Linked DNA regions of Homo sapiens: all the other regions are linked to region 1. The links are contacts of gene promoters, found by promoter capture Hi-C in blood cells and fetal thymus (Javierre and others, 2016). All regions are on one chromosome and are shown on one strand. The core of a region is centred on a gene start or on the middle of the fragment in contact, and the rest is flanking DNA. Distances in the headings are between cores, read along the strand shown. Region 1 holds the start of SEMA5B (semaphorin 5B). Region 2 has its middle 75 kb from the start of SEC22A. Region 3 has its middle 3.9 kb from the start of LINC02035. Region 4 overlaps SLC49A4 (solute carrier family 49 member 4).

Region 1 (2,700 bases), core at 73-2,572:
CGAGGTGGGGGGCGGGGGCGGGGAGGAGGGGGCCAGAACGGCGCTGCAGGTGATCCTCCTCCTTGTTTAAAGTTTGCGGTGGGCAAAGGAGTCGGCTCCGTTGGGCCGGGTTTTCTCGAGCCTCGCCTTCTTCCTCCGCCGGTCCGGCGACCACTTCCCTCTTGGCTCCCGCCCCGCGCGGGTCCCCGATCCCCTCTCCCGTCTGCATCCCTCTCTGTGCCCGAGCGCCCCCCGCTCCCTCCCTCCTCGCTGGATCTCCCGCAGGACGTGAGCGGAAAGTGAATGGGCAGCCCCAACCACAAAGACAAATTACCATGAGAAACATAAATCGGGAAATCGCCGCTCGCGTCCCTGCTTCCAGCTGCCGCACCCCTCTCCACCCTCCCAGCCGGGAGTGCGGGGCCCTGAGCCACTGCCCCTGGAGCCTGGTGGGCAGAGTTCACGCTCCGCAGGCCTGGTCAGGGCAAGAGTGTCCTGGAGGCGGGTCTGGGAAGAATCCGGGCGGCGGCTCCGCAGGCGGCGGCGGTGGAGCAGGGACGTCCCTGAGCGGGAGATTTCACACTCTGGGCGGGCCACGCGTTCCCACGCGCCTCGCCGCCCGCACTCTCCCTCAGTGCTGTTTACTAGCCGGCCCTCTCTGAGCCTCCATCTCCGCACCTCTGTCCCTCCGTCCCTCAGCCTCACTCGTCCGTCTCCTTCTCCAGGCCTGGGTCCCGGGTCCCCATCGCCGCTGCAGCCCAGATGCGCCGACCACAGCCCTGGCAGGGCCCAGTGCAACCCGGACCCAAGCTGGCTGGCGGCGGGAACGCAGCAGCGATGAGGGCTCTCAAGCCGAGGTGGCAGCGGGAGGCGCGGAAGCCAGGGGACCCCCTGTCCTCCCGCCCGCAGCCTCACCTACCTGGCTTCAACTTGCCAGAGCCCGGACCCCTACCTCTCTACCCCGATACCCACCCGAGTTGCTGAAGTTTGCAAGTTGCAGCCCCAACCCGCGCAGGGGAAGCGCCCGGGGCTCCCGGGACTCACCTCCCAGAGGCGGGTGCAGGTGCCCGGTTCCCCGCGGCTCCCGACTCCCGGGCGGCGCGGAGCGGCGGGAGCTAACCAGATGGGCTGGCGGCCGGTCTGGGAATGGGGCGGCCGCGCAGGAACGGCCTCCAGCTCTCAGCGCTCCGGTGCAGTCCCCACCCGGGCCCGCGCCCGCTGCGCTCGGGCTCCCAGCAGCCGCTGGATGCGCTGCCGACCCGCCCGGCTCGGCGGAGCTGGGCTCTGGCACCAACCCCCGCGCTCCAACTAGCTCCCGACCCGGCGCTCGGAGAGAGCAGGGAGGAGGAGACCGCGGGAGCAGAAGGAGGGAGGGGGCGGTGGGGGAGGAGTTGCAAGCAAAGGGAGAGAAGGAGGGGAGCGGGAGCGAAAAAGAGGAGGGGGCTGGAGCAGACCTGCCGCGGCGGGCGCTGCACCCGCCAGCCTCGAGGCGCGCGGAGGAGCGCGAGGGGGCGCCCTGCATCCCGCGGCTGCTCGGCCGACTCCCGCCCCGGGCCTGCCGAGTGTGGTGACCAGCCCGGTGGGCCGAAGCCCCTTCCCCGGCCGGCATTCCGGCGGCAAGACCTAGGACTCCGAGCACTTGCCGCCGTTTGCCACATCCCGCCTTGCCGTTCTCGGTCACCCCATCTCGAATGTGACATCCCCGAGGGCCATCGGCGCGGCCTGCCCACCCCAACACTCAGGGCCTGAGGAAGCTCCCCCAAACCCCACTCCGGACTCCCACATTCCCCAGCCCCGTCAGTTCGGAACGATCTTCCTGCCTGTGGATTTGAAGGGGAAGGGACCTCGTGTAAAACGGGGGAGAGCCGTTATAACCTGCAGCGGCAGAGAGGGAGGCTAGGCTGCTGGGCTGGGCTGGAAAGCCAGAACTGGCCGGATTAGGGTTAACCTTGCAAACTGTACGATACCGAGCGAACCTCTCCAAGCCTCAGTTTCCTCAGCTGTAAACTGGGGTTAGTAATACGCACCCTACAGAATTGTGAAGAACGAGTAGGGGATACGGGGAGTAAAATAACATCAGGAACAGTGGGAGGGCAGCCAAGAGATGAGCGATCCGGGGAGGTGGTGGAGCGTTCTCAGCTGAGGACGGAAGGTTTAGCGCAATCACAAGGAGCGAGGCCGAATTGTTTACAAGTTTAAGTGATCTAGTGTTTCTGATGGCTAGAAGGCGGGAGAGAAAGATTCAAGGGGCAAGCTTCAAATCCTAGCTGCCCGGGCTGCAAGAGGGATGGGAAGGGAGCCCTCTGCTGAACAAAAAATATATTTGAAAATGTAAAAAAAGGTGACCTAAGAACGAGTGAGAAAGACAAAGGATTTGAAAAATTAAAACCAGGAAAGTGTGATTCTAAGAGATAACCAAAGAGAACTATGAAATAAAAATAGATAAGTTGGAGGAAGGAAAATATCAAAAGACTTTCTAGAGTATGCCAAAAATTGGATAATTAGAACAAAGTCTGAGTGAAGCATTTTACATAATAAAATTCTGGGTAAAGGAAAACCCAGATAAAGCAGAAGAATTGAGACACTAAGAGCCCCAGAGAAGCACCTCCTGCCTGCCATCCTCCTACCCCTGGACCATGGCAAGAAGCAGTTTGACAGGATAATGGGAAAGAAAGGGTGGTTCTGAATCCAAGAAGGGAGTTTATGAGACACTGTAAAAAG
Region 2 (2,700 bases), core at 78-2,577, 250 kb after region 1:
CACTGGGGGTCCTGTGAAGTGCTAAAATGAACAGAATTCTCGATTTTCACACATTTACATGTTATGATTGTGCCTTGGATCCTTACCTTGTACCAGCTTTCAAAGGCTTCCATTTCAGGATTTGGGGGGATTTGTGTAGGTGTGGTTAATAAAGGATTTTGTTTTCATAGGTAAGAATCCTAAGCTGAAAACAAGTATTAAGCTTGAAAATCATTTGAGACAAATGCCTTAAGACATGGAGAACCTTTACCCAATTCTGTATTACAGAATTATAAGATTGAAAGTGAGTGTGCTATCCTTGGATTGGCACATTTATATTGCAGTAAATGTCTCCACAGTGGAATCTAGTGTGGAGAGATGGACAGCTCCATTTCTGTTAGGCCACGTGTGGAACCCCATTAGACTCCTACTTCATCAGGGCTCCACAGAGACCAGAAGTTTGTCATAAAGGACCTAACCTCCGTGGCTTCTGAGGTCAGCTGCTCCCCTAAAAGGCAATTGCTTGGCCTTCATTTCAAAAGGTTTACTAAGTGACCTAAGGTCATACTCTGAGCTGTTGGGTTTCCAAGGAACTCAACAAAGGTTGTGTGTGTGTGTACACCTTCCTTGTTACTATTTTAACAGACTTTTGGCTCACTGTAAGAGTTAGAACTTCTGTGGAGTGTGTGGTAAAAGAACACATACGTTCAAGAGCAGCCACCACTCAAAACCTCATTGAACACTTAGCCTTAACCACAAGTTATAGGTCACTCTTTAGGGCCACATTCTTTGTCTGTGTTCAATGCTTTATAGTATTTTTCTGCCTTATCTCTAAGGAACCAAAGTCTTTCTCCCTAAAAATGCTGTGGTAAAGTAAGGTCTGATTTTAGGGTTAAATTGGCTTTAGTAATAACCTCGCTAAAAGTTAACAAAAGAAACCCAGCTCCAAGGGTTGTGACTGAGTTTGTGTAAAAGGGCTGAGTGAGCCGAGAATGTCACTCTGAGCATTACCGGTAAGGTTGGAGGTGTGTGATCATTAATGTTCTGGGGCTGCTGTTGAATGCTGGCAGATTGCGGCCTCCTGTTTAAGCATCGAGTTTTTCAAAGAGAAAAACTGGCTGCCACTCTTGTCTCTTTCTTGAGTGGCTGAGTTTTCTAGGTTATTTAGTAGATGAAATCAAAAGAAACGTGGAAACACTGTGTGGTTGGAAGCCACGTGGCGCATATGCTCCTGCTTGTTAACAGTGAGTGGTGTTGATGCGTGGGCATTCAGGTTTCTTCTGCGTTGGCAATGCTGATGTGTAATCAGTCGTCTCAGCACAATTGGGGGTTTTAGGAAACTCAGAGATCAGCCTTAGTTCTCAGAGTTTTTGAAATCAATATCCTAGCCTTATGAATTGTTCCTTGTGTTTCCTTGGCAACAAACAGTATTTTCAGCCCAAACCCACCCACGGTTTACATTCACCCCTTTCTCCTGCATCTCACAGCACAGCCATACAAGCATCACCCAACAGAAAGCACATTCAGGCACCATCTGACAACGGGAAGCAGGACTCAGGCATTCCACTCCCCATTTGTTCCTGGTGTCCCCTCCCCAGCTCTGCCTTGCTTGCTTACCTTCTTTGTGCCAGCACTTTTCTTTGAGGTTGGGTTGCAAAGGACCTTGCCTAAAGATGAACAAAGTATTTCATTCTTGCACTTTGAATCTCTCCAGTGCCTAGGACTAATGAGGAGAATGCTTGTTAGCTCATTTTGTGGGCCAGTGCTGGGTTCTCCTTAGTTCATCCTTATGGCAGCATGAGGTGGAGCGGGCACGATCTCATTTGCATTTGAGGAAACCAAGACTCAGGCCAGGAACTTGTCTTCGTATGGTATGACACTTGGTGGTGGATGTGAAGTTCAAATTTGGAGTTGGGTTTAAGTCGCTTGAAAGTTGGTGCTCATTTTTCTGTGCCACAGTGCATCTCAGAAAGACACTTCTTAGGGAATGTGTGTGTGACTGACGACAGCTGGGTTCTTACTGTTTTAGCAGCAGTGTGAACAGATGAAGCAGACAGGAAGGGGGAAATGGCAATGTATACTGTGTGACAGGCACTATGCTAAGCATCTCATCTTTACCGAAAGCATTTATGAAGGTTTTCTCTTTTAAAAATGAGCCACCTGGGCCATGAAGAAGTTAAGTGACTTGACCACAGTCACAACCTAACCCATGTGGTAGCATCAGGATTTCAGTCCAGATCTGACTCAGAACTCATGCTCTTAACCACCATGTGATTTTAAGCTGGATAACATGGAAATACGTTTAAATATATAAGGAATATATGTAAAGGTAATATACATTACTTTTAAATAAGACATCAGGTCAGTGCTAACTCCTACAGTATAGATGTCCCAGGTTGAATAAAATAGTTTCCTAAAATCTCTACATTTATAACAATGACATAGGACAGACAGGTGGCTGCAAGATGTATGGTGAAGCTTATGTATACCTTAGCTATTAGGGCAAGAAGTATACATTTTAGTACTTGTACTAAAACTAACATATAAATTAATCTTGATGTGGAAAATAAAAGCATTATTGGTGATTTGGGTGTTACAAACATTTGCTTTTCCTAGCAAAATGCCAGAATAGGTTGATTCTTTGACTTGATGTCATTTAATGGGAATTCTGTTAGGTGATTAGGGAATTTGTGATCCCTCTGAAAACATTAACCAAAAAAT
Region 3 (2,700 bases), core at 177-2,676, 150 kb before region 1:
TTTAGTAGAGACAGTGTTTCTCCATGTTGCCCAGGCTGGTCTCAAACTCCTAAGTGATCCACCCGCCTCAGCCTCCCAAAGTGCTGGGATTATAGGCGTGAGCCACCACACCAGGCCAAGAAGGCGGATTCCTTGAAGATGATTCAAAGCCAGCCATTAAGGATATCCGTAGACCATGACCCGGATGCTAAATAAGCACCACCCCTTCCTGTTCAGAGGGAAGAGAGAAAGGAGAGGGAAGAATTATAAGGTATTTGGTTTTAGTCCGAACTATTATGTTTGAGGATGTTGTGGTATAACATTCTGCAATAGTAAGATTTCTTGTGTAGAACATTTTAATTATGGTTAATTGCACTTTTTTTTTTTAAGGGACAGGATCTCAGTATGTTGCCCAGGCTGGACTCAAACTCCTGGGCTCAAGTGATCCTCCTACCTCAGCCTTCCGAGTAGCTGGGACTACAGGCATGCACCACCACACCAGGCTTAATTCTTCTTTTAACACAAAGTAGAATAACACTCTAAAAGTATTACCTAAATGACTAATTAGTTCAAAACATCCCAAGTGGTAGTGATTAAAAATTCTTGCATTGTTCAGAATTCTTGTTTTTAGAATACATGAGGTGAGACGAGTCCCTGTACTTTGTTTGTATGTGCTTACCCCTCCAGCAGGTAATTGTTCTAATTATAAACTGCAACTGTTTTAAGTGATCAAAAATTTCATATACCAAACCTGACAGGAAGGGAACCAAAAGGCTTGGGGGTGGGGAGAAGATTACACATCATTTACTTGAATATTGCAAATCATATTTTCTTTTTGTTTTTATTTCTATCATGCATCAAAATAGACCAGCTGCTTTCTTTGCACTTTCTAACCATTATAGAATCCTAATGAAATGTTACAGCTGAAAGAAATCTTAACCCTTCACTAATCCAAACCCTCATTTTAGAATTTATAGAAATGATTCTAGAGAGGTAAAGTACAACTGAGGCTCACAGTTTCTGACTCCTAAACCAGGTGTTTTTTTCCTACCTCACAGAAGCTTAATTTAGACCATTTTGGGTGTGCATGAATACCTTCATGTTAAAAAATGATAGGGCTTTAACAGTAAGCTTCCATTATTGAGTATGGGAAGTACAAGGATTAAGTTAAGGTGATTATTTGGTTTATAAGTAAAATTCTTTTTTCTCCATCACTATCCTGAAGATGCTCTGTCAGCTCTTAGCCCTTGGGTTGTAATGACATCATGTAAAAAGATTCTGATGAATAATTCAATCCCATAAACCAAGTCAACACCAATATTAATTGGTAAGGACATGCTGTAGTGCAGGTTCCCTGTGGCTTATCAATTAATACTTCACAGTTTATGGGAAGAAGCATTTTTTAATATGATCCCTGGTGGAGGTATAGGAACAAGACAGTTGTATACACAAATGCATTTCACTGGAGGATGGAGCTAATTACGAGAGAATCAAATACAAATGTAATTTTGTATATTTAAATATATATGGCCTGAGGGCCAAGTTTTTTCGTAGATCATGTACTCATGTTTAATTATGGAGAATGTTTACAGCTTGTTTTTATGAAGCCCTTCTAATGAGAGATCTAAGCTAAGGGATTTTAAATTGAAGAGGTTAAATCCCCATCTACTTAACTTTTAATTAGTTTTTTGTTTGTTTGTTTGTTTGTTTGTTTTTTACTATTTTACTAAAATCCAGGCATTCATCTTACTGTTTGCATAAGTACAAGCTTCACTTTAGGCTCAAGATTGAATAAAAATGCATAGCAAATTTGCTTTAAATTAATGTTTAAAAAATCACATTGCACATTTGTCCCTGAAATAAGTACAGAAATTACTATCATTTTGCCATATTAAGGCAAGTACTAAAGCTGTGATATGAAGAAAATGTCATATTAAAAAAGAAATGCAGGAAACTATGAGAACATTTTATCAAGCCTATTTTATGAATATCGGAGAAAAATGCAATTCCACTTTGATTTGGAATTATATTCATGCAGAAGGGACAAGATAGTTTATTTCTTTACTATCAGACAGTGTGCTGGTCTGTTAGGAAATGTGAGCAATACTCAGAGGGAATGTTTCTGGGTGTCAGAAAGTCAGTTCAAGAAAGTGGAACAGGACTTTACAGTGGGCTGTGGGGTACTTTGTGCTCAGTAGAGGCGGGGTGGCCTGCTCACTCAGCAGACATCTTGGCTCTCGAGCTCATTTCCTCACGTGTCCTTCTGGTTCAGATGGAACCTCAAACTTAGGAGAGGATTCCAGGAACTAATACAGAGGCCCGTAGGGGTCCCTTGGAGGGTGTCATCTCTGGCCAGGGGGATGGGAGTGATACAGGCAGTTACATGGCCCTCAGTCTCTCTGATTTACATTTGTTTGTGGTCAGGATTTAGATCACTTTATGATTTTCTGAGGCTCTGACTCGTCAGATACCTTTCTCAACCCTTGGATGAATCTGACCTCAGCTCTGTCCCTGAGACCTTCCACTTTCTTGAACTGACTTTCTGACACAGGCTTCTTCACCCTCAACCCCTCTCCAGGATCCCCAGCAGAAATCCATTCTCATTCCCGAATAGGAAATAAGGCCATACGCTCAGAGTTTCCTCTCCTGAACGAGACGCTAGCAAGCTCAGAACATGAGTAAGCCCAGGTGCTCCAGAAAGATTTAACAGGTCTTCTCACA
Region 4 (2,700 bases), core at 127-2,626, 220 kb before region 1:
ATGTGACCTTGAGAGTCGTTGAGAAATTTTTTCCCTTTCAGAAGGACCCATAAATTACTCAAGTTCGAGAGATACTGGTCTACAGATTAAGGTGTAAGAATGGGATATAAAAAGATGAGGTTAGAAGGTTATATTTTGATTCTGAAGGGTCTTGATGCCATCCTGTATTATTAACAGTGTACTTTACTCACTGGATAGTGGAAAACCCCTTAGGCTCTTAATCAGAGGAGTGCTAGTATCAGACCTATGTTATATTCACTATGGATTGAGATATGTAGGCTTGATTATAAGGGGTAGAGATTGCTGGCAGAAGACCTGGAAAGATACAGTGGGACCCCAAGCTGAAGTCATTCTTTTGTTGGTTCATTTATTAGGTCATTCATTCATTCAACAGAATTCACTGAGCTTCTACTATGTGCCAACCTCTTTGTGGGCATTGGGAATATGACAGAAGACAAAGCAGATAAAAATTACTATGTAATGTAGTAAATTACATAGTATATTACATAGTACATAGTAATTTACTATATAATGTACATTACATGACATACTATGTTTGTGATGTAGTTTCATTCCACTCAGGGAAACCAGCAATAAACTAGATAAATAAGTAAAATACATAGTATGTGCTATGGAGAGTAAAACAAAATAGGAAAGAAGGATATGAAAAGGCGAGGAAAGGATGGTGAGATTTCAGAAAGAAAAACCTAACTGGGAAGATAACCTTTTGGGATAAAAACCTGACAGAAGTAATGGATGATGCAGTATCTAGGAATCAAGCATTATATGCAGAGAGAACCGCAAGAGTTCAGGGTGGAAGAGGGACAGGGATGCCTGGCAGGGAGGCTGGTGTGGCATGAGAAAAGCAGGTAGCAAATGAGGTCAGAGCGGTTACAGAGTGGTAGTGGGAGGGTGGGACCAGATTCTTTAAGACCACGTCAGCTCCTCAGCTTTTTCTGAGCTAGGAAACCACTGGAGGTTTTGAGCTGAGAGTGCCATGGTGCTCGGCTGCTCCTTTGAGAATGGACTGAAGCTTGAGGTCATGGGCATAAGTAAGGAAAGTTGGGAAACAAGTGCAATAAACCAGGTGAGAGATGATGGTGGCTTGGACCATAGTGGTGGCAGTGGGAGTGGTGAGAAGTGGTCAAATTCTGATCATCTTGAATATTCAAAATGTAATTATATTCTGATTATATTCTGGTCCATTTGCTGATGGACCAGATGTGGGAAGTAAGAGAAAGGAGTCCAGAATGATTCCATGCTGTGGGAAGTTGGGGGAATGGAAAGGATGGCACAGACATGAGGGGAAGTGTGAGAAAAAGAGATGGGAGGTGATATGCTGGAAGTTTCACTCGAGGGACTCTGAAATTGTTGATTCCATTAACAGATGGGGAACACAGAAGTGGGGGAGAGTGGATTTCAGGGACAAGATGTTGACTTTCTTTTGGAACAGAATTTTTCAGTTTCAAAATAAATGTTCAGTTTTGAATTTCAAAATGTGTTTTCTTTCTAGAAAATTTAGGGTACAAGGGTTCATGTTTGAAAAGGGAGATAAGACAATCATCTAGGTTCCTATGGAAAGCTAGTCATAATTTTCCATCCTTCTCAGTTAGATTTTAACACAAGTCTCATTATTGTATTTGAGATGCTCTTAATTTTTCAAACACCCAGAGGTGTGTTTTTTCAAGCATCCACAGATTTTAAGTACAGATTTTCATGTAAGCTTAAATTCAACACTGCTTTCTTTTAAAATGCCTATTAAGGCCAGGTGCAGTGGCCCACACCTGTAATCCCAGCACTTTGGGAGGCTGAGACAGGTGGATCTCTTGTGCCTGAAGTTTGAGACCAGCCTGGGCAACACAGCGAGACCCCATCTCAAAAAAAATACCTATTAATATTTTTGCTAGTTTTTCTTCTGTTTTGGGCCATCCATACTATTACTTGCCTCCAGTCTCATATCCCTTTATATCCTTTCCATATACAAAATTCTGGGAATAATAGAGTTGACCCTCCATCTTGTTGGAGAAGGTGGTATGAAAAAGAAACAATTCATAAATAAATGTAAACAAATGTAGAACAGGTAAGAAGTAGAAATAAAAAGTTCAGAGATTGAATCTTTCATAAAAAGAGTGTATAAATTGAATTTTCAATCTTATACATTCATCTATAAAGAATACAGGAGTATTAACCCCTTGAAATAAGACTTCATTTCGTAGTCTTTAAGCATATCTTTTAAGCAGTGTTGTTAACAATGCATGATGAAGCTGTTAAAATGAAAATGCTACAATTGGAACATGTATTTTCAACAAATCAGGTGTATAGCCATCACTTTTAAGCTTCAGTCTCCATCCGATGTTCCAGGGAAGGCCAGTGTTGAAACAAGCATTTACAAGTCTGTGTTTTTGTGGCCTTGTTTCACTCGGAGCTTTTTGAGCTTTTGACCCAGCCTTTTGGAATGGCTCCCCTGCACCCTTGACTTCCTGTATCTTAGCTCCCTTAAGTATCAAGACATGAGAATAGCAGCATTCTGACAAGCTCTTCCTAATGGTGTTCTACTTATATATAGTATCAGTATTTATTTTATTTGCATAGTACTGATGAAAACTCAGGAAAAAATTATTTTGCCACGTTTTTCTTATAACATCTTAGATAAATAAGGAACTTGGTATAACAAATTATAAAGCATTTTTTCTTCTATGA

The links. Contacts are between HindIII fragments. The CHiCAGO score rates a contact against its expected background, and 5 or more counts as called.
Region 2: a contact is called between a fragment that was not itself captured here and the fragment with the promoter of SEMA5B in region 1, in 1 of 17 cell types (megakaryocytes). The highest score is 5.1, in megakaryocytes.
Region 3: a contact is called between a fragment that was not itself captured here and the fragment with the promoter of SEMA5B in region 1, in 2 of 17 cell types (M2 macrophages and M0 macrophages). The highest score is 8.0, in M2 macrophages.
Region 4: a fragment that was not itself captured here is called in contact with the fragment with the promoter of SEMA5B in region 1 in 1 of 17 cell types (M2 macrophages); the score reaches 6.1 in M2 macrophages.

The regions. Positions count from the first base shown.
Region 1 is chr3:123,026,441-123,029,140 of GRCh38, forward strand. It overlaps SEMA5B (semaphorin 5B), which reads right to left and starts at 1,323. Exons shown (of 23, transcript NM_001031702.4): 1 at 1,024-1,323. RefSeq lists an enhancer at 1,927-2,434. The HindIII fragment of the contact is 2,453 bases long and covers 1-2,231 here.
Region 2 is chr3:123,275,342-123,278,041 of GRCh38, forward strand. No RefSeq gene overlaps it. Among named protein-coding and RNA genes, the nearest start is that of SEC22A, 75 kb to the left of the region's middle. The HindIII fragment of the contact is 2,255 bases long and covers 201-2,455 here.
Region 3 is chr3:122,881,308-122,884,007 of GRCh38, forward strand. No RefSeq gene overlaps it. Among named protein-coding and RNA genes, the nearest start is that of LINC02035, 3.9 kb to the right of the region's middle. The HindIII fragment of the contact is 637 bases long and covers 1,109-1,745 here.
Region 4 is chr3:122,807,678-122,810,377 of GRCh38, forward strand. All of the region lies in intron 2 of SLC49A4 (solute carrier family 49 member 4), which reads left to right. Among named protein-coding and RNA genes, the nearest start is that of SLC49A4, 14 kb to the left of the region's middle. The HindIII fragment of the contact is 690 bases long and covers 1,032-1,721 here.